Regions from separate parts of the Homo sapiens genome. Here region 1 is linked to region 2. The links are contacts of gene promoters, found by promoter capture Hi-C in human tissues and cell types (Jung and others, 2019). All regions are on one chromosome and are shown on one strand. Each heading gives the region's core, a stretch centred on a gene start or on the middle of the fragment in contact. The rest is flanking DNA. Distances are from core to core; before and after follow the strand shown.

Region 1 (4,134 bases), core at 652-3,151, 140 kb after region 2:
AACTGAAGATGATGCAGGTCACGAGGCAGCGCCAGGCTCCGGGCGGAGACCCCTCCAGGGCGTCCGGGCGGCCTTCAGCACATCCCCACCCCTGCCTCGGCCAAAAGACCCCGCCCCGCCCAGGCAGGGGCCCACCCGGTCCCACACCCCCGAGGCTTCCCGAAGGCAGCTCCAACGCCTGCCCCAAGCACCTACAAGGGCAGCAGTCACTGAGCCCCGACTCCTCGGGCGGCGCCGCCCAGGACAGCCCAACCTTCCCAGGGCGGGGGGCCCCTTCCCCTCACGCAGCCCCGCCGGGGCAGAGCCTCACCCCCCGGCCACCAAGACAGCCAGCGCTTCCCCTTTTCAGTTCTGTCGCGGCTTCCCCTTTCCACCCTGCACTACGGCCAAAATCTGGGACTCTTGCTTGTCCCCGCGAAGACCGGGCGGGCCTAGCCTGACCTCATGGAGGACGCGCCCCGCTCCGGCTCCCGGCCGCCCGCCCCCCCGCCCCCGCTCCAGGCCCGGGCCCTCCCGGTTGCGTCATCCAGGCAGACGCGGCCTCGCGCCCCGGGGGAGATTTTCACAATCGCGCAGCCGGCAGCGCCAGCAGCCATTTGCTGCGCAGGGTAAACAGGCCCCAAAGTTGCCTCCATTTTGCACGGCCCCCAAACCGCGGCACCGCCAGCACCGCGGCCCAACCTCCCGATCCGGGGCTGAGCGACGCCCACCTCGGGGGACGCAGTCGGGAAAGCTCGACCGAGACCCCGCGGGCTCCCCCACAACCGCAGCTGGCACCCGCGCCCCCGGAAGCGGGACGCGTCTTCCCGGGAAGCGGCGGGGGTCTTCCCAGGGCGCTGCCGGGCTGTCGGAGTGCGCCACCCCCAGCTCCCCGGCGGCCCCCGCGGAGAAGCCCTGGGTGCCGTCTACGTGCGCGGCCTCGCCCGGCGCGTCCCGGGCCATCCAGACCGACTCGCTCAGGGGCGAAAAACGGGGCCCACGAGGTCCGTCGCGTGCAGGGGCCACATCGAGGCAACAGGGACCCGCGGGAGCTCGTCCACCGCAAAGCGCTCCCCGCTCCCGCAGCGCACGCTCGACGGCCGGGACCGAAAAGTGCAGATTCACCAGCCCCGCGGGCCCTGCCTGTCCGCGGACCAGCCCCCCAAGGCCGACCCCGCCCCCAACCAGATTGCCCCATCCTGCGCCTCCCAAATCCGACCCGACCGCACACCCTTCCTCCAAACCGAATTCCCAGTCTGCGCCCCGCAAATCCAACCCTCGACCAGAAGCCTCTCCCCTCCTCCGAAGCCGAGTCCCATCCCGCGAACCCCGCAAAAGACACACGCCTCCCCCGACTCCCCGTCCTGCGCCCAAATCCGACCTCCGACCCATGCCCCTCCCGCAAATCAGGCGCCCCGGACGGTGCCCCCCAAATCCAACTCCGCACCCTTGCCCCCCAAACCCGACTCCCCCGAGAGCACTGCTAAGGCCGGGGGGGACCTCCAGGCCCGCCCTGCGCCTACCTCGTCCCCGGCGCGATTCTGGCCTTGACAAAGGGGCGGATCTCGCGCGCCGGGGACCTATCTGGCGCCCCGAGGACGGCCCCCCGCAGGCCTGCGCGGCCGGCGCTTCTGGAAGCTTCGGACGGGGGCGGGGCACTTACCTCTCACTGCTGCTGCCGCCGCGGCTGTGCAGGCTTAGGAGCGGCATGGTGCGGCTGGCGTGGATGGTGGCGCTGGGTTTATCCCCTTCCTTCTCTCTGGCGAAGCAGTGGCTATTGAGGATCCGCTGCAGGGAGGATTTCACCATCCGGCCGCTGGGGTCCGAAACCAGGAAAACCTCCGCTGCGTCTCTCCGCGCCGCCGCCGCTGCTCGCCGTTCGCAAAATGGCGCCTCTGCCGCCGCCCGCCTTTATAGATGCTGCGCCCAGGCCACGCCCCCCGCGCCGCCGGGAACGCGACCGCACGAGGGGCAGAGCCGCGGGGCCGCCGGGAAAAAAAGTCGCGCCCGCCCCTCCCAGCGCCTGATTGGTGAAAGGGAAAGGGAAAGGAAGAGGCTCTCTGGAGATTGGTTGGTGAGCCTCGGGCCACGCCCCCTCCTGCGCGCGTCCTTCTGGGGGCGGGGCTGCCGTGGCGCCGGGTACGCGCTGCGCGCGCCCCGAGCCGTCCCCGCCCCCACAATCGTGCCTTGGGGGCGGGGGCGGCTCGCTGGGGCCGATTTTCGGGGGTCTTCGAGTGCCCGTTTGTCTGTCGTGGTCCACGTCGCCCTCCCTAGGGTCCCTTCACGCAGCGGGACCCCTCCCCTGGGTAGGCCCCCGGGTGCTTGGGGGGTTGTCCAACCGCGCCAGAATTATTTCCAGTAACACCTGGTAATCATCGATGATATTACTGGTTTTATTTTTTTAAATTTGGTCTTGCAGTTCTTAAAATGCTTCCAGTGTTTAAAAAAAAAGAACTTCCAATGTTAAAGATATTCAAATTTAGTAAAATATTTCGTGTACAATTTGGACTTAAGCAAAAATTTTACTCCTTGCAGATAAATTCAGATTTTTCCTGTGGAAACTGAAACTTACCCTAAGGAAAAACACTACTCCTGGCAGTTAAAATTCAGAAACACATCTCATGTATGAACTAAAATGTGGATCTCCCAAGGAAAAAACGATTTCTTTGGTGGTCAAGTTCGGTAAACTGTTTCGCCTGTGAGGTAAAATGTGGACTTACCTAGCAAAAATATTTCCCCTCCTGGTTAAATCCAGAAAAAAAATCTCAGGTATGAACTGCACTTTGCTTTTAATAAGCAAAGATATAACTCTTGGCAGTCACATACGGGTACATAGCTTGTGTGTAGACTAAATTATGAATTTAGCAAAAAGTTGCCACTTTGCAGTGAGGTTTAATAAAATATTTTTTATTTCATGTATAAACAAAATTTTGTTCTTACCAAGCAAAAATGCTACTCCTGGCAAATCCTGATTCCTTTCATGGTTTTAATTTTGTTTTGTTTGCGACCGGGCCTGGCTGTCACCCAGGCTGGAGTGCAGTGGCGCAATCTCGGCTCGCTGCAACCTCCGCCTCCCAGGTTCAAGCGATTCTCCTGCTTCAGCCTCCTGAGGAGCTGGGATTACAGGTGCCCGCCACCACGCCCGGCTAATTTTTGTATTTTTAGTAGAGATGGGGTTTCACCATGTTGGCAAGGCTGGTCTGGAACTCCTGACCTCAGGTGATCCGCCTGCCTCGACCTCCCAAAGTTTGGGGATTAACAGGCGTGAGCCACCGCGCCTGCCTGTCTTTCGAGATTTCGTACTGCACCAGAAGGCTGTTGTTGCATCTCTGCTACGAGCATTCGCTATTCAGGTGTTGAGGCAGAAATTAACTCCTGCGGTTGACATTTGGGGCCGCCCTGGGCACTGCAGGGCGCTGAGCAGCGTCCCTGGCCTCCACCCACTCCATGCCTTGAGCACCCCCAGTTGTGACAACCACAAGTATCCGCAGACATCACCCAGTGTCCCTTGGCGGGGGCAGAATCACCCTGGGTGAGACTCCCGAGTTAGGGGATTCCACGGACCCCCCCAAGAGACTCTGCATCCCATGATCCTCTGCCCTGCTGAGGTCCCAGGAGACTGCGCACGTTGAAATCCACACCTTGAGGCAGAGGTTGCAGTGAGCTGAGATGGCGCCGCTGCACTCCAGCCTGGTGACAGAGCGAGACTCTGTCACAAAAAAAACAAAAAAAAAGCAATCCACACCCTGAGTGGGGAAGGAGAGAGGAGAAGCATCCCAGGAGCTGGGGGCCTCCTGGTTTATACCGTTTGCCCCATTAGGAGTTTATCCTGAGGCTGGGCACGGTGGCTCACGCCTGTAATCCCAGCACTTTGGGAGGCCGAGGCGGGTGGATCACGAGGTCAGGAGTGCAAGACCAGTCTGGCCAACATGGTGAAACCCCGTCTCTACTAAAAATACAAAAATTAGCTGGGCATGGTGGCGCGTGCCTGTAATCCCAGCTACTCAGGGGGCTGAGGCAGGAGAATTGCTTGAACTGGCACCCGGGAGGTGGAGGTTGCAGTGAGCCAAGATTGCACCACTACACTCCAGCCTGGGCTACAGAGCGAGACTCCATCTCAAAAAAAAGGAGTTTATTCTGGTGTCTGGTGTGAGC
Region 2 (4,526 bases), core at 578-3,077:
TGTGGGGTGTAGGTGAACTGAAATGAAGCATGGCCGGGCGCGGTGGCTCATGCCTGTTATCCCAGCACTTTGGGAGGCCAAGGCGGGCAGATCACCTGAGGTCAGGAGTTCGAGACCAGCCTGGCCAACATGGCGAAACCCCAACTCTACTAAAAATACAAAAATTAGCCAAGCATGGTGATGGGCACCTGTAATCCCAGCTATTCAGGAGGCTGAGGCAGGAGAATCACTTGAACCGGGAGGTGGAGGTTGCAGTGAGCCGAGATCACACCACTGCACTCCAGCCTGGGCGACAAGAGTGAAACTCCGTCTCAGAAAAAAAAAAAAAAAAAAATAGGAATGCAACTAACAGTTTTTGGAAACAGAGATATAGTCCTACAAGTTTTCTTTTTTCTTTTTCGAGATGGAGTTGTGCTCTTGTTGCCCGGGCTGGAGTGCAGTGGCACCATGTCACCGTATCAGCTCACTGCAACCTCCGCTTCCTGGGTTCAAGCGATTCTCCTGCCTCAGCCTCCCAAGTAGCTGGGATTACAGGTGCCCTCCACCATGCCCAGCTAATTTTTAGTATAGATGGGGTTTTGCCATGTTGGCCAGGCTGGTCTTGAACTCCTGACCTCAAGCGATCTGCCCACCTCTGCCTCCCAAAGTGTGCGATGACAGGCACGAGCCACCGCACCCTGCCAGTCCTACAAGTTGTCTGGGTACAAACTATTTGAAAATACAATAGAAAGTATTCCAGACCGGGCATGGTGGCTCACACCTGTCATCCCAGCATTTTGGGAGGCTGAGGTGGGCAGATGATGAAGTCAGGAGTTCGAGGCCAGCCTGACCAACATGGGGAAACCCCGTCTCTACTAAAAATACAAAAATTAGCCGGGTGTGGTGGCCTGTGCCTGTAATCCCGGCTGTTCAGGAGGCTGAGGCAGGAGAATCACTTGAACCTGGGAGGCGGAGGTTGCAGTGAGCCGAGATCACGCCACTGCACTCCAGCCTGGGCGACGGAGCAAGACTGCGTCTCAAAAAAAAAAAAAAGTATCCCATTGATAGATCGCCATAGTTAACAAGACATGGGCAAGACCTGTGGACAGAAAGATACCATGAGGGTACACGCAACGTAAGATGGGAATAAACGGATACACATGTGACCTTTCCTTGAACAGGAAGATCCAAAATTATGAAGATACTATGACGATATCCGTTCTCCCTAAATCAAGATAGGCACGTACATCATCTTCTACCTTTCTGCCCCGAAAATACCTTGTAGCTTAGGAACGGTGACCCAGTCAAGAGGCACGGTACTGAGGGCCTGCATCGATTTGGTGGGGGTGCTGACCACAGGGCTCTCAGGACTGGTGGGCCAGGCTGTGCTGGGGGCGGCAGGGGCAGGAGCCATGGTGGGGGCCAGAGGCATGCTGGCTTTGGTGGTGGCCTCCAGGATCCAGTCACGTAGCCTGGTGACTCGGGCATAGACCCCTGGACGCCGGGCTTCCGCACACCCGATTCCCCAGCTCACGATGCCAGCCAGAAAGAACCGGCCAGAGGGCTCCTCGCAGACCAGGGGTCCTCCTGAGTCACCCTAGGAAACCAACACACACCCTCAGGATGGGTCGGCAGCAGCCAGTCCAGACACCAGTGCTACGAGGCCCAAGAAGGAGCTCTGAGCTGGGACAGCCAGGACCTCTCTCCACACAAGCTCACAGAGCACCTGGGGCTGATCATTGACATCTCAGAACCTGTTTCCTCTTCTGTGGAGGAAAAAAAACAAAACCCAAGACAGTTGGACTATAGGATCTCTAAGATGTCTTTCAGTCCTACCTCTGGCAGGCCAAAACGTGACCCAAATAAATAACATCCCCTCCTCTTCTTAACTCAGTAGATCTTTGATAATGTCACCACTTGCTTAGGCTGGCAGTATGGCTGCCACGCGGGTGCCTCCATATATCTCACTGGTAGCTGCAGCATTGCTCCCAAAGTGCTCATCTGCTGTCACTCGTCCGGCCTCACCATTTTTTACCTTCCCATATCCAGTTCACCCTGACCCTTACGTTCTGTGTATCGTTTTTTTGTTTGTTTTTGTTTTTGAGATAGAGTTTTGCTCTGTTGCCCAGGCTGGAGTGCAATGGCGTGATCTCGGCTCACTGCAACCTCCTCCTCCCAGGTTCAAGCAATTCTCCTGCCTCAGCCTCCCAAGTAGCTGTGATTATAGGCACGCATCACCACGCCCGGCTAATTTCTTGTATTTTTAGTAGAGACGGGGTTTCACCATGTTGGCCAGGCTGGTCTTGAACTCCTGACCTTAAGTGATCTGCCCACCTCAGCCTCCCAAAGTGCTGGGATGACAGGCGTGAGCCACCGTGCCTGGCCGACTCTTACATTCTTAAACATGAGCCCTCTCATTAGTTCCTAGCATTTTCTCCAGATTCTGGTTTCAATATGGCAATCTAAGCACATGTAGCAGTCTCTCCCATCTTTTCCTCACCCACCAGGCCTTAGAAACAAGAGCAAAGGTATGCACAAGAAAGACAGGAATCCACAGCCATGCTAAAAAAATTAGGCAGGAGAGATCCCTGGTTGTGGACCAGAAACCATGAAGACTCACGAGAGGCTGACAGAGGAAGTGGCAGCCCAGCCCATGTGCAGAAGCTCAAGACACAAGAGAAAGCTTTCTCAAGAGGACCTGGGTTGGTTGGGGTAGAAAAGGGATTTGGGCAACCACAAAGGATAAATGAGACCAGGAGGTCTTTGGTCCCTTGAAAGGGTACATAGAATCCAAGAACACAAACTGTTAATGTCCCTCGCCAAGAGAAAGTGAATAGCAAATATAAGATCACGGCAAGAATTGAGCGACATTTTTAAATTTTCAATTTTGTTTGAGACGGCGTCTCACTCTGTCACTCAGGCTAGAGTACAGTGGCGTGATCTTGGCTTACTGCAACCTCCACCTCCTGGGCTCAAATAATCCTCCCACCTCAGCCTCTCAAGTAGCTGGGACTACAGGCATGCACCACCAAACCCAGCTAATTTTTGTTTTTGTTTTTGTTTTTGTAGAGACAAAAGTTTTGCTATGTTGCCCTAACTGGTCTCAAACTCCTGGCCTCAAGCGACCTGGCTGCCTCAGCCTCCCAAAGTACTGGGATTACAGGTGTGAGCCACTGCACCCAGCTTTTCATTCTTAAGCACCAGTTGAGGGATTCCAATCTCCATGAAATAAAGACACTCAGTTACAACAGAATAACTTACGTTTGCCTGAAATACAGTTAACCACAAATATAGAATATAGAAGAAACATAACGGATTAAATTACGATCCTCAGAGAAAAAGAAAGAAATGGTATCCACGAAACAAGAACAGGACACTGCAAACAAGACCAGGTGGCTGAAAGAAGAAAGAATGAGACACCTTGAAAACAAAAATTATAATTGTCGGCCGGGCCTGGTGGCTCACACCTGTAATCCTAGCACTTTGGGAGGACAAGGTGGGCAGATCACCTGAAGCCAGGATTTCGAGACCAGCCTGGCCAACATGGCGAAACCCTGTCTTTACTAAAAGTATAAAAATTATCCAGGCGTGGTGGTGGGCACCTGTTATTCCAGCTACTCGGGAGGCTGAGGCATGAGAACCACTTGAAACTGGGAGGTGAGCCAAGATGGTGCCACTGCACTCCAGCCTGGGTGACAGAGCGAGACAGTGTCTTAATTAAAAATACAAAAATTAGCTAGGTGTGGTGGCGCATGCCTATAATCACAGCTACTCTGGAGGCTGAGGCAGGAGACTCGCTTGAACCTGGGAGGCGGAGGTTGCAGTGAGCTGAGATCACACCACTGCACTCCAGCCTGGGTGACAGAGTGAGACTCCATCTCAAAAAAAAAAAAAAAGAAGAAGAAGAAAAAGAAGGTTCCAGGTATACAGCAGAAGCAGCTTTGGATGACCCCTGATTTTCTCTTTTTTTTTTTTTTTTTTTTTTTTTTTTTTTTTTGAGACAGAGTCTTGCTTTGTCGCCCAGGCTGGAGTGCAATGGCGTGATCTCAGCTCACTGCAACCTCCAGCTCCCAGGTTCAGATGATTCTCCTGCCTCAGCCACCCGAGGAGCTGGGATTACAGGCACCTGCCACCACGCCAGGCTAATTTTTGTATTTTTAGTAGAGACAAGGTTTCGCCATGTTGCTCAGGCTGGTCTCAAACTCCTGACCTCAAGTGATCCACCCGCCTTGGCCTCGCATAGTGCTGGGATTACAGGCGTGAGCCACCGTGCCCAGCCCTGGAACCTTCTTGAGTTGAGCCTGCAGCTCACTCATGGCCCAGCTGACCACCCAGGGGCAAAAGTCCACGGGGTTCCCATAGACCAACCCTTCCCATACAGACGGAGAGAATCTGATGCCCAGGGTATGTGCTGGCATCATTCATACAAGAGGTGTTTCTTGGGTGCCACGTTGTATCAGGCCCAGTGCTGGGAACAGTGTCTGTGTCCCCACACAAGTCCCGGTTTGGAGGGCAGCTGGGGGGGATTTACACAGGGACCCCATCAT

The links. Contacts are between HindIII fragments. The study calls those that stand out against the background at their distance.
Region 1: a contact is called between the fragment with the promoter of OAZ1 here and a fragment that was not itself captured in region 2, in 1 of the 25 tissues and cell types used here (lymphoblastoid cells).

What each region holds. Positions count from the first base shown.
Region 1 is chr19:2,267,253-2,271,386 of GRCh38, reverse strand. It overlaps OAZ1 (ornithine decarboxylase antizyme 1), which reads right to left and starts at 1,901. Exons shown (of 5, transcript NM_004152.3): 1 at 1,643-1,901; 2 at 1-2. The coding sequence starts at 1,788. It overlaps LOC105372240 (a long non-coding RNA gene), which reads left to right and starts at 2,134. Exons shown (of 2, transcript XR_936242.3): 1 at 2,134-2,285; 2 at 2,515-2,894. RefSeq lists silencers at 60-399, 410-609, 820-879, 1,845-2,334 and an enhancer at 1,588-2,202. The HindIII fragment of the contact is 6,913 bases long and covers 649-4,134 here.
Region 2 is chr19:2,410,750-2,415,275 of GRCh38, reverse strand. TMPRSS9 (transmembrane serine protease 9) reads right to left here. Exons shown (of 19, transcript NM_001395513.1): 11 at 1,258-1,576. Among named protein-coding and RNA genes, the nearest start is that of TIMM13, 15 kb to the left of the region's middle. The HindIII fragment of the contact is 6,937 bases long and covers 1-4,526 here.